2 separate regions of the Homo sapiens genome follow, and region 2 is linked to region 1. The links are contacts of gene promoters, found by promoter capture Hi-C in blood cells and fetal thymus (Javierre and others, 2016). All regions are on one chromosome and are shown on one strand. The core of a region is centred on a gene start or on the middle of the fragment in contact, and the rest is flanking DNA. Distances in the headings are between cores, read along the strand shown. Region 1 holds the start of SHROOM3-AS1 (SHROOM3 antisense RNA 1). Region 2 overlaps SHROOM3 (shroom family member 3).

Region 1 (5,872 bases), core at 1,495-3,994:
CACAGGGCAGCAAAAATAAACTTTACTTGGTTTACATTTGCCCAACTGCATATGGCCCCATCTCTTAGCTTTCACACTGTATATAATTCTGTACAGGGATAGAACCAAGTTTTCCCCTTTTTGTTCACTCATTGCCTCTCATTGCATCATGAACAAATGCATTGCATCATGAACAATGCCTCTCATTGTTCACTCATTTGTTCACTCATTGCATCATGAACAATAGTGCCTGAGATGCTTACTTCAGAATTGAGACAGGCAATTGGGCCAAAACCTGTTGAACCTCAGTGAATATAAAACATGAGTGGCAGAAAAGAGCAAAGGAAGGGAGGAAGGAAGGAGGGAAGGAGGGAAGGAAGAAAGACAAAAGAAAGAGCATCCAAATAGAAAGAAGTCATATTATCCTTATTTGCTGGTGATAAAATCTTATATTTGGAAAAACCTAAAGACTCCACCAAAAAACTATTAGAGCTGATAAATTCAGTCAAGTTGAAGGATACAAAATCTACACAAATCAGTAGCATTTCCATATGTCAACACTGAACTATCTGAAAAAGAAATCAAGAAAGTAATCTCACAATAGGTACACATAAAATAGGAATTAATCAAAAAATGAAACATCTCTATGATGAAAACTATAAAACACTGATGCAAGAAATTGAAGAGGACACAAAAACATTGAAAGACATTCCATGTTCATGGACTAGATCAATATTGTTAAAATGTCCATACTACCCAAAGCACTCTAGAGAGTCACTGCAATCTCTATAAAAATACCATTGACATTCTTCATAGAAATAGAAAAAAAAAATTCTAAAATGTATATGCAACCACAAAAGATCCAAAAGAGCCAAAGCTATTCTGAACAAAAAGAATGAAACTGGAGGAACATTACCTGACTTCAAATTGTGCTACACAGTTATTATAACCAAAACAGCACAGTATTGGCATGAAAACAGACCCATAGACCAATGGAGCAGAATGGAGAACCCAGAAATAAATTCATACATCTACAGTGAATTCATTTTCAACAAAGGTGCCAAGAACATACATTGGGGAAAGGACAATCTCTTCAATAAATGGTGCTGGGGAAACTGGATATCCATATGTAGAAGAATGAAACTAGACCCCATGTCACTATATACAAAAATCAAATCAAAATGGATTAAATAGTTAAATCTAAGACCTCGAACTATGAAACTACTACAAGAAAACAATGGGAAAACGCTCCAGGACATTGGACTGGGCAAAGGTTTCTTGAGTAATATCCCTCAAGCACAGGCAACCAAAACATGAGCGGGACTTTTAGGGTGCACTACTCTCAACACCTGAGAAGCAAAACTATGAAAATAAAAGCAAAAATTCCCCCGACCCAACCCCTCCTGGTCTCCTAGTCATTCTTCAAGTTCTGAGTCAATTTATGCCTATGATTTTAAAACACAGGTTTTGTAGCCAGACGGACTACATTCAGACCCAGATTCACTATTATCCTTTGCCTTAGTTTGATAATCTGTAAAATGGGGCTAATCTCTCTCGAGGCTATGCTGAGGATCAGATGACTGCCAAATATAAAGTATTTATATGGTGCACCGTATAAATACTTTGCACCAACCTTATATATCTTAAGCACCTCGTCAATGGGTGCTGTCATCATATTTGCCAAGAGTTATCCCAGGTGGGAGTGATAGAGCAGTGAACAAAACAGACACAGCCGCTGGCCTCCTCCAGGTGCACACAGCCTTCCAAAAATAATATTAATTAAATAAAGCATTGTAACAACACTGACTTAAACTCCTCTGGTCGGGACTGCCCTGTGACTATGTCTGGAATATGTCTAAATTAGCACCCACAACTGTTTTATAAGTCTTCAAAGCCTGTCTCCTCCCAGGCCTTGAACCCCTGGGCACAGAGACCAGCGGCTGATCCCTACCTTTGGGCGCTCGCCCCTGCACTGTGCCTGGCCCTCAGCAGGCCCTACCGACTGTCCTTGCTGACAACAGGAGGAGGGCTGTTGGCGGCACTGACAAATCAAGCGGGTGTCGGACCTCAGCGCCTAGAGGGAGTGCTCTGTCTCCCTCCTTTCCGCCCGGTCTCAGTCTCCCGCCCGGATTCCCTCCCACCGGCAGTAGCCAACAGCCTGTCCCAGCCTTGACCCCATCCATTCTCTCAGCTTACTCTCAGGGTCCGAAACGTGAAAAGGCCAGCAGCTTAGCAAGGTCTCCGACCTCTGTTCCACTCGCCCTCGCCCTCCTTGCTGCTGCGCCTAAAAGCAATCCCAGGCCCACCGCGCCCGCCCACGCTGGCTTCCCCCAGACACCCCCGGCTGCGATTCCCCTACCAGACTTGGCAGTTCCCCAGGGTGTTCGCATTAGCGCCAAGGGGAAACATTCGTTGTTAATTACGTTGCTTCTTAATGATGAGCGTCTGCCGGGCGGCTCCTCTCAGAAGAAAGGCAAAGTGTTCGGAATCGCAACATTTCTGGCCCTGAGCTCTGGAAGGATCGAGCTCCGCTACGGGCCCAGGGCTGAGAAAACGCGCGACCCCGGGGGTCCGTCCACCTCTTCAGGGAACCCACACATTCCACAGATCTCTGTGAAACAGAAAAAGTGTTCCTTCTGAAGACCAAGGGCGTCCCTACAAGATAGATTCTGTCCTCTTCCCTTTGGCTTCTTGGTGAGGGCGACCCTCTCTGCTGAGAGCGCTTCCCTCCAGCTCGCCACGGAGGACGCTGTGTAGCAAAGAAAGGTCCCTCTTCACTTGTGTGAGTTTGCTAACAGTGCACGCAAGGCTTCTCGGGTGAAAGAGGCCTGAGCCACTTCTTTTGAAGCCCTAAATGTATTTTTTAAATGAAGACATGCCAAACAGCTACAAAAAGTTGTAATTGTGCTGTATTTTAAAGCTCCGCCTTGATTACCAGTGTTGTTTACACGCATGCAACTGTAATGACTGCCTGCATAAGCTCATCTGGAGATAAGGCCTAAAGGCCGTATGTGAGGCCCCTGATGGACATGAGGCCAGGATCAAATAGCTCTTCTCCTCTCCCCTCTGAGACGAGCTCTGTGACTGCAAATACACAGGGAGGGGAGGGGAAGTGGCCTGAGAGAGGCGGCGGGAGGAGAATTAACCCTACAACAGAGACAGTGAGGTTTAAAAAAAATAAGTGGACTTGAGAACTGGGTTCATATTGGGTGCCGGTGAGGATACTTCACCTCCTTCTTGCCTCATTACCCATCTGTAAGCTAAGGAATGTTGAAAGAGGCTTTGTTCTCCAAAAAAGATAAAAACAGTTCTAAGGAGAAAAGAGGCCATGGGCCGGGAAGCAAGAATGCATTGCTAAGAGCACCCTGAAGATGTTTCTTTCCTCCTTCTTGCCTCCCTCCTCCTCCCTGAGATGGAATCAAAATGCTTTAACAGGCAGTTGACGAAGAACACGATTCATCCCAACCAAGTGGAGAGTTTTTCTTGTGTTTGATATTTATTAAAATCTTGGAATTCCACACTTCATCCATTTTTCCCATGGCTTCCCTTCATGCATAAACAGCAAAAAGGATGCTGCTTGTTACATAAACTTGTCAGGCTGCAAAAGCCCAACATTCTGTTTTCTCCCTAAGTGGGGTGCGGGAGGAAGCGTGTGTTTATTATGTATTACAAAGAGCTTTGCACTACCTAAAATCAAAGTAATTAGGTAGTGCGAGTCAAAAATAGTTTTGAAATGTTATAAATAAAGTGACAAAACACTTCTTTAGATTTCTGAGAAATGCATTCCTGACAATATTGCTCCTGCTCTCTCTGCATTTGCTATTAGAAAAGAAAGGCCTTCTTTCTCAGTCTATCTTTGCACCATCACCTGGACACCCTCCGAGATGAGTCACAGGCAGAGGAAATTATCGTGATTGCATATTGTTTAGTCTCTAAACTTCAGCTGCTTCCTGGGCAACCCAGTTGCCTGCAATTTAACCTGCCTGGATGGATGAGCTCATTAATGAGCCGCCCCACAGGCTTTCTCGATTGGCTCTTCTCCAGACCCTAGTTCTCTTTCTTCACCCAGTGGTCACTGGTTCACCAGCCTTCCTTGTGTGATGAAGTAAGTCCTCATCCCACTCTCACTGCGCTCCTCCCTCCTTCTGGAGGAGACCTTAGAAAGGGTGGCAGGAGCAGTCATTTCAAGCATCCAGTGGAGCCTGCACTTTTCACAAAGGCCACCCTTTCTCCAGGATGCTACCAACTTCTCAATGCCCTCCTCCCGGGTTCCTTGGGAGGGAGGGGAATCAAGTCAGCAATTCTTCTTTCTTCCTCCTTTCTTCGCCAAGAGGCTGCTTCCCCATCGTGGGTCAGCGCCAGCCTAGTAGGGAACCCTGAATTCCTCTCATTGTTTTCCCCCTTACAGAGAAGCAGAGTGGCCCCAGACGGTGGGAAGCCCTCCTAGGAGTCTCATTGAGGACTCTCACAGCTACCAGTTGGGGATTGGGGGTGAGGGGTGGGGACAGATGGAAAGCCTTGGGTTTTAATGTTTATATAAGAAACAGCAATTCAGGCTCTCCCTCGCCCATGTGTCCTGTGGTGAGTGTGTCTCTAGGGAAAATCCTGGTATTTGCTTTCCGGTTTAAAAAAATTTAATTATCAAGATCCTGACTTTTTGTGCCTTGGCTTCCTGCTTTCTAAGAAAGCCAAAAGCACTTGGATTAAATAAAATTAAGTCCAGACTTCCTTTTGTGGACCCCAAGAGAACACTGCTCCTCTCCTCTCGGCCAGGTCTCTTCGCAGTGTGCTCCACCCTATCTTTATCTCTTATTTTTTCCTTTTTGCTTCCCTTCCTGCCTTTCCAACCACCTTATTTAATTGGCTTCTGGGTCTTTTTTTTTTCTTTTTCCATTTTTGCCACTCTTGAACCCAATTTTATCCTTGACGCTATTTCAATCAGCTTCAGCCAGGAGCTAGTAGTGAAGAAAATCTTGGCCAAAATTGAGAAGTGCTGCTTGTTTTTAACCTAACCTCTATCAGAGTCTTCTAGCGGTCAAGAGCACCTCAAGCCACTTCTTTTTACAGAGGATCCCGGAACCGCTTTTTAAAAAAAATTTTGATAAATGCCAAAAAGTCACACAAACTGTAGAATATCTTAGGTGTTTACACTAAAAAATTGTCCCTTAACACACACTCACAAAACAATGTAACTAAAGATGTCATGTAAGTCTAAATATGAAGCTCCTTGTGAATTTGGGACCCCAGTCAAAACCTCTGATGTCCATTTCCCCCTGAAGAACCTTGTGGCCCACATATTGCTCTTCTTGTCTTGGCTCAACTAGCTACTGGGGAATTTGAGCAGCAGGGCAGTACTGATTCCTCTGTTGCCAGTCCTCTCCCCTGCCTGGGCAGTCTGAGACCCCCTCTCCCCCAGTAGGGCACTCAGTTGAAAACGGTGGCTTTCTACCTTCAGGTGTCCACCGATGACCAGATGGTGATTGTTAATAACGTTATTCTTTTAAAACCATGACTGGTTTTCCAACCCCACACACGAGGGTGTTTTTAAATTAATTGATTTTTAACTCTGTTTTTAAATGAATAAAAGTGTTTTAGAATTAGCATCATTTGAAAGAACAGCAGATCCAATTGTTGGAACTGAGTGATAGGTACTCAGGAATCACTGTGCTGGACTCTCTACTTTCATGTATGTTAGACATTTCCATAACAAAAATAAAATATAAGTAAGATGCTCTTGGATCTAAATTTACTCTAAATACTAGCATTAAGAATAAAATGTTCTGGACTGGGTGCTGTGGCTCACTCCTGTAATCCCAGCACTTTGGGAGGCCGAGGTGGGTGGATCAATTGAGGTCAACAGTTTGAGACTAACCTGGCCAACATGGAGAAACCC
Region 2 (5,872 bases), core at 1,521-4,020, 250 kb before region 1:
GCTCCACCGGCAGTGCGTGCCAGCTCTTTTTCTCATGTGTAAGCTGTGAATGCTGTTAAGCCTGTAAACCACTATAATAGGTTCAGAGATTTTAGGATCCCTGAAAGAGAAGGATCAGAACACAGCAGTGTTGAGTGTCAGGTTTCTTGGGCACTTGAAGGATTAGGCAGGACAAGTGAAGTGTTACTTTAGGGACAAATGTCTGGGCGATTCTCAGGCAGCAGGCTGGAGAATGTGGGCTCTGAGGTTAGTCTTGAATTCTAATCCCAGCTCTATTGTTTTACTGACTGTGCAACATGGAGCAAGTCATTGCCTTCTTCTGAGCCTTGGTATTCTCATTTCTATAAAAATACAATTATAATAACCTTATTGTGTTGTTGTGACAATTTGATGCGATAAAGTTACTGGAACACACGAAGCCCTCAACATCTGGTTGCAATCATGATGATAATTAATGTATCTATGCAATAAATAGTGGGCACTGCTATGTGCTCCATGCTGTTCTGGGCGTCGGGGATACAGCAGTAAACAAGACAGACACAAATCCCTGCCTTCGTGGGGCTGACATTCCAGTAGAGGACAGACAATAAGCAAGATACGTAAGTAAAAAATAGAGTTCATGGCCAGGCGCGGCGGCTCATGCCTGTAATCCTTGCACTTTGGGAGGCTGAGGTGGGTGGATCACTTGAGGTCAGAAGTTCGAGATCAGCCTGGCCAACATGGTGAAACCTTGTCTCTACTAAAGATACAAAAATTAACTGGATGTGGTAGCGTGCGCCTATAGTCCCAGCTACTCGAGACACTGAGGCAGGAGAATCACTTGAACCCAGGAAGCAGAGGTTGCAGTGAGCCGAGATTGCATCACTGCACTCCAGCCTGGGTGACAGTGCAAGGCCCTGTCTCAAAACACACACACACACACACACACACACACGTCATGAATTAAGTGTTAATGAGAAAATAACAATGCGGAGGAAGATAAGTAGTATTAGGGGAGGCTGAAATTTTAAAGCGGTAGCTAGGAAAGGCCCCCTCTGGAAGACGAATTTGTGTAAGACCTGGAGGAGGTAAGGGAAAAAGTCAAATGGTTCCCTGGGGGAAAAGCATTCCAGGCTGAGGGAACAGCAAGTCTAAGGCCCCTGAAGGAAGACAGTGCCTGCCATGCTCCCTGTGCCGCTGGAAGGCCAGGGGCTGGTATTGAGTGATCCAGTGGAGAACACTAAGAAGTGAAGCAGCAGGGAGGTCAAATCCAGCACGGCAGGGCCTTTGGTACAGAGGGAGGACTGCGGTTTCTCTTCTAAGTGTGATGAGGAGGGTCACAGGGAGGGCACAAACCCTGGAGAAGCACAACACAGGACCAATCCCCATAACAGCAGCTCCACCCTTTCTCACTTAGACTGGGCTAGAGTGGTTAAGCATGAGGAAAAGAGATGGGCCTGGCTTTCTGTGCCTCAAAGCACCACGTCAAGCTGTGACATAGGCATCCACCACTCTTCCTTTGTGCCTACACCTGTATTTTTGAATGTACTCTCATCACAGTGTATATCACCGTGCTGTTCTTCAAAGTCAGTTTCCCCAGTATTTGTTCAATAAATGTTTACCGATCACTCATTACGTGCAGGCACTATGTTAGGTGCTAAATAGTACAGTGACATAAAAGGCTGTAAACAATTAAAAAATCAACGCCTCTTATGTCAGAAAAGTAACACTGTGTCATCAAAGCAAAGTCGACTTCTCCTATAGGTGTGGGTATATTTAGGATTTGAGAAGGGAAAAAGCGTGCTTAGCTTCCGGGCTCCAATGTGCGGATATACACCCTCTCCTTAGCTTGTTAGCTTAGGGATTTCCCACCCAGTTGCACACGGTGTGTTATCTGAAGTCATTTAACCTGTTGACAGTCGCATTCTTGGAATAAGTAAGTTCCATGCAGGTGAACTTGGACAAACAATGCCAGTAACCTTTTTAGCTGCTGAAGTAATTGGTCCAAAAGTTTAAAATAATAAGCTTCATTTTCCACTGAATCTTGTTGACAGAGAGTATCAGCAGGGCTTGGAGTTAGAAGAGTCTAAATCCCTGATGAATAGTTCAAAAAAATTACTGTTAAACTTTTTGTAAACAAGGTTTTTTTAGTCATAATAATGTTTTTAAGATAAATTGTGTGGATAATTGGTACAAACTTACGATGTATGCATTTAGTTAGCCTCAGTACAATCAAATGTGTTGTTACCAGTGCATCAACAAATGCACCTCAATATCTTAATTTATCATTCATGATAATAAATGGAGACAACACCATAGATTAAGGTAATTCACAGCCTTGTTCTAGCCAATGGCTTCAACTTTCTTTCCTTTTTTTTTTTGAGATGGCGTCTCGCTCTGTTGCCCGGGCTGGAGTGCAGTGGAGCGATCTTGGCTCACTGCAACCTGTGCCTCCTGGGTTCAAATGATTCTTCTACCTCAGCCTCCTGAGTAGCTAGGATTACAGGTGCGTGCCACCATGCCCGCCTAATTTTTGTAATTTTAGTAGAGACGGGGTTTCACCATGTTGGTCAGGCTGGTCTCGAACTCCTGACCTTGTGATCTGCCTGCCTTGGCCTCCCAAAGTGCTGGGATTATAGGTGTGAGCCACTGCGCCCGGCAGTGGCTTCAACTTTCTTGGCAACCAAGTTTATTGTAGGAGTGGCCAACAAATATCACATCCACAGACACTGATGCTACCAAATAGAAAGGTCAGGAAAGGGCCAGCAGCAACAAAGAGGGAGGAGGGGAATGTGAGGGTCCTAAGGAATCCACAGGCTGATGGAGCATCCCTTAATCCAGTTAACTGAAATGAGTTAGACTAAGAGTCTACACTTGGCCCCCAGCTGGCTCAATTCAAGTCCTCCCTTGGACCTACTGGGACTCCACCTTTAGGAGTGGATCCTCTGGAGGAATCCTGGCACCAAGCAAACTTCCCAGGGCTCCTTTGACTTGCTGGAAATTGGCTGACCTCTGAGGGAGTGTTGTTTAAATGGATCAATTTAAGCACAGAAAGAATCCAGCCTAATTTTTTGTGTGTGCGTTTTAATTTTTTTTTATCAGTATAGGCTCTCTGACATGTCCCAGTGAATGTGCATGTTTTTTAAGTACAATGATATGAAATATATTAAAAGTATACTAGAATATAAACTCTGGGAAAGGAGAGAACACCGTGTTTCCTTTGTTGATATTTTCCCAGCCCTAGAATTATGCCTGCCAATGATAGATGCTTAAAAAATACTTGTGAGATGAATGAAAGAATGAATGTGTTCACCAAGTTTCTGACCTCAAAGAGTTTAGGACCTAGAAGAGCAGATAGGGCATGGTCAGAAATACCTATGACAAAGGTAGTGACTGAGGCTTGTCTTAAGACAGAAACCATTAAGAGGAGAGGATGAAATAGATTCTGCCTGGGTTGATAAGGAGACATTTCATAATGGAAGAGTATTTGGAGGAAAAAAGGAGGAAAAGGAAACTAGAAATGTGGGATGGGCCTTCTACAAAAGATCACTGTTGAAGAAAGCTTCTAAAAATCTTCTTTGGTAATAATTAAAACCCCAAGACAGCACAAATCCCTGAGAGACAGTATGGAGAGATGTGAGAATCAAAACATGAAGTAGGGGCCCATGAAATGTTTGACAAATAAGTGCCATTTCAAAAACGTCATCCCATGGCCAGGTGCAGTGGCTTTCATCTGTAATCCCAGAACTTTGGGAGGCTGAAGCGGGAGGCTTGCTTGAGTTCAGGAGTTCAAGACCAGCCTAGGCAACATAGTGAGACCTGTCTCCACAAAAAATAAAAAAATTTCCCCAGGCATGGTGGCACATGCCTGTGATCCCAGCTACTGAGGAGGCTGAGGTGGGAGGATTGCTTGGGTCCAGGAGTTTGAGGCTACAGTGAGTTGAGATCACACCACTGCACTCCAGCTTGAGCAGCAGAGAGAGAACCCTCACTTGGGGGCTAGGATGAATTTTTTTTCGAGACAGGGTCTCCCTCTGTTGCCCAGACTGGAATGAAATGGTGCAATCTTGGCTCACTGCAACCTCAACCTCCTGGGCCCAAGCGATCCTCCCACCTCAGCCTCCTGCATAGCTGAGACCACAGGCATGTGCCACCACATCCGGCTAATTCTAAAAGTGCAGTGCAAAACGAAGAGATTGTGAGGAACTCTGTAAATACAAAAGGTTAAAGAAATAGTTTATAAGAACAGTGAACAACAATGAAACTCTTTATGACAGTCTTCCCCATAATGTTTGCTTTCACATCAAATCAGTCATGAGGACATGATATAAACTATACAAATGAGCTTTCTTGACTTCCTTTTTTAATATAAGAAATTGATTGTTTCCTAGGTCTCATTTCGTTGAAATTGTTGGCAAATAATACTGAAGGGATGCAATTTCACAAACTGCAACATGAGCAAGACCGTATCTACAGTGTTCATCACTGTACTCGCAGCTTTTAGCACCATAGCTGACCACAGTAGTGGCTGTTCATAAATATTTATTGAATGAACGAACCAATATTTTCTGAGTAGGTCCTGTGTGCAAAGCTCTGGAGAGGCATGCTGGGGGAGGAAAGGATGGAGTCATGATTTCTCATGAAGTCTCTTCAATAACTTCACAGTCCAAGGTGGGGAGGGGTGGGACTGTGAGTGGGGAACAGACATAGACATAAATAGCTTTGCTGAAATTCAGGGTGTGTAACCACAGCAGCAAGTTCAAGCAGTATAAAAATAATAAACTATTAGATGTCACTTTACATTTATATATTATTTTGTCCACTTGATTATCTGAAAATGGGAAAAAGAAGAATTATTATTATTATTTTTTTTTGAGACAGAGTCTCGCTCTGTCACCCAGGCTGGAGTGCAGTGGTGCGATCTCGGCTCACTGCAAGCTCTGCCTCCTGGGTTCACGCCATTCTCCTGCCTCAGCCTCCCGAGTAGCTGGGACTACAGGCGCCCGCCATCACGCCCGGCTAATTTTTTGTATCTTTAGTAGAGACGGGGTTTCACCGTGTTAGCCAGGATGGACTCGATCTCCTGACCTTGTGATCCGCCCGCCTCGGCCCCCCTAAATTGCTGGGATTACAGGCATGAGCCACTGCGCCTGGCCTAAATTTTTAATTGTTATTTATAAAATAAAAGCTATTTTATATATATTAAAATAGTATATATTGGCCAGGCACAGTGGCTCATGCCTGTAATCTCACCACTTTGGGAGGCCAAAGTGGGAGGATCACTTGAGCCCAGGAGTTCAAGACCAGCCCAGGCAACACAGCAAAAGCCCATCTCTACAAAAAATACAAAAATTAGCCAGACCTGTTGGCACACGCCTATAGTCCTAGCTACTCAAAAGGCTGAGATGGGAGAATTGCTTGAACCCAGGAGGCTGAGGTTGCAGTGAGCCAAGACTGTGCCACTGCACTCCAGCCTGTGCACCAGAGCAAGAGTCTGTCTCCCAAAATATCTATATATGTATATAGATATATCAATTATATAATATATGTATATAGACATACCAAGCAATTATATATGTATATACATATATCTATATACATATACATTCCTCATTATGTTTGCTATATACATATACATATATATAGATATCTATATATGTATGTAGCTATGTCTGCATATAATTTGTATATGTAATATATGTATATATATAATTGCTTGGTCTATTTTATGTATCTTGAGACCTATTGAAGGTTTTTGAACATGTGGGCAATTCTGGAGAGTAATTACTAAAAAAAGAGAAAATATGGGTGAGGTTTTGTTTACTCAGGTTTTGTTTTTGTTTTCCCCTTTACTTCCCTTTCATTGTTATTGACGTCTATAAGTATCCATTGG

What was found. Contacts are between HindIII fragments. The CHiCAGO score rates a contact against its expected background, and 5 or more counts as called.
Region 2: a fragment that was not itself captured here is called in contact with the fragment with the promoter of SHROOM3-AS1 in region 1 in 1 of 17 cell types (M1 macrophages); the score reaches 5.2 in M1 macrophages.

Annotation. Positions count from the first base shown.
Region 1 is chr4:76,799,719-76,805,590 of GRCh38, forward strand. It overlaps SHROOM3-AS1 (SHROOM3 antisense RNA 1), which reads right to left and starts at 2,745. Exons shown (of 3, transcript NR_187405.1): 1 at 2,339-2,745. RefSeq lists an enhancer at 1,530-2,320. The HindIII fragment of the contact is 9,780 bases long and covers 1-5,872 here.
Region 2 is chr4:76,547,027-76,552,898 of GRCh38, forward strand. All of the region lies in intron 1 of SHROOM3 (shroom family member 3), which reads left to right. Among named protein-coding and RNA genes, the nearest start is that of MIR4450, 24 kb to the right of the region's middle. The HindIII fragment of the contact is 1,537 bases long and covers 2,003-3,539 here.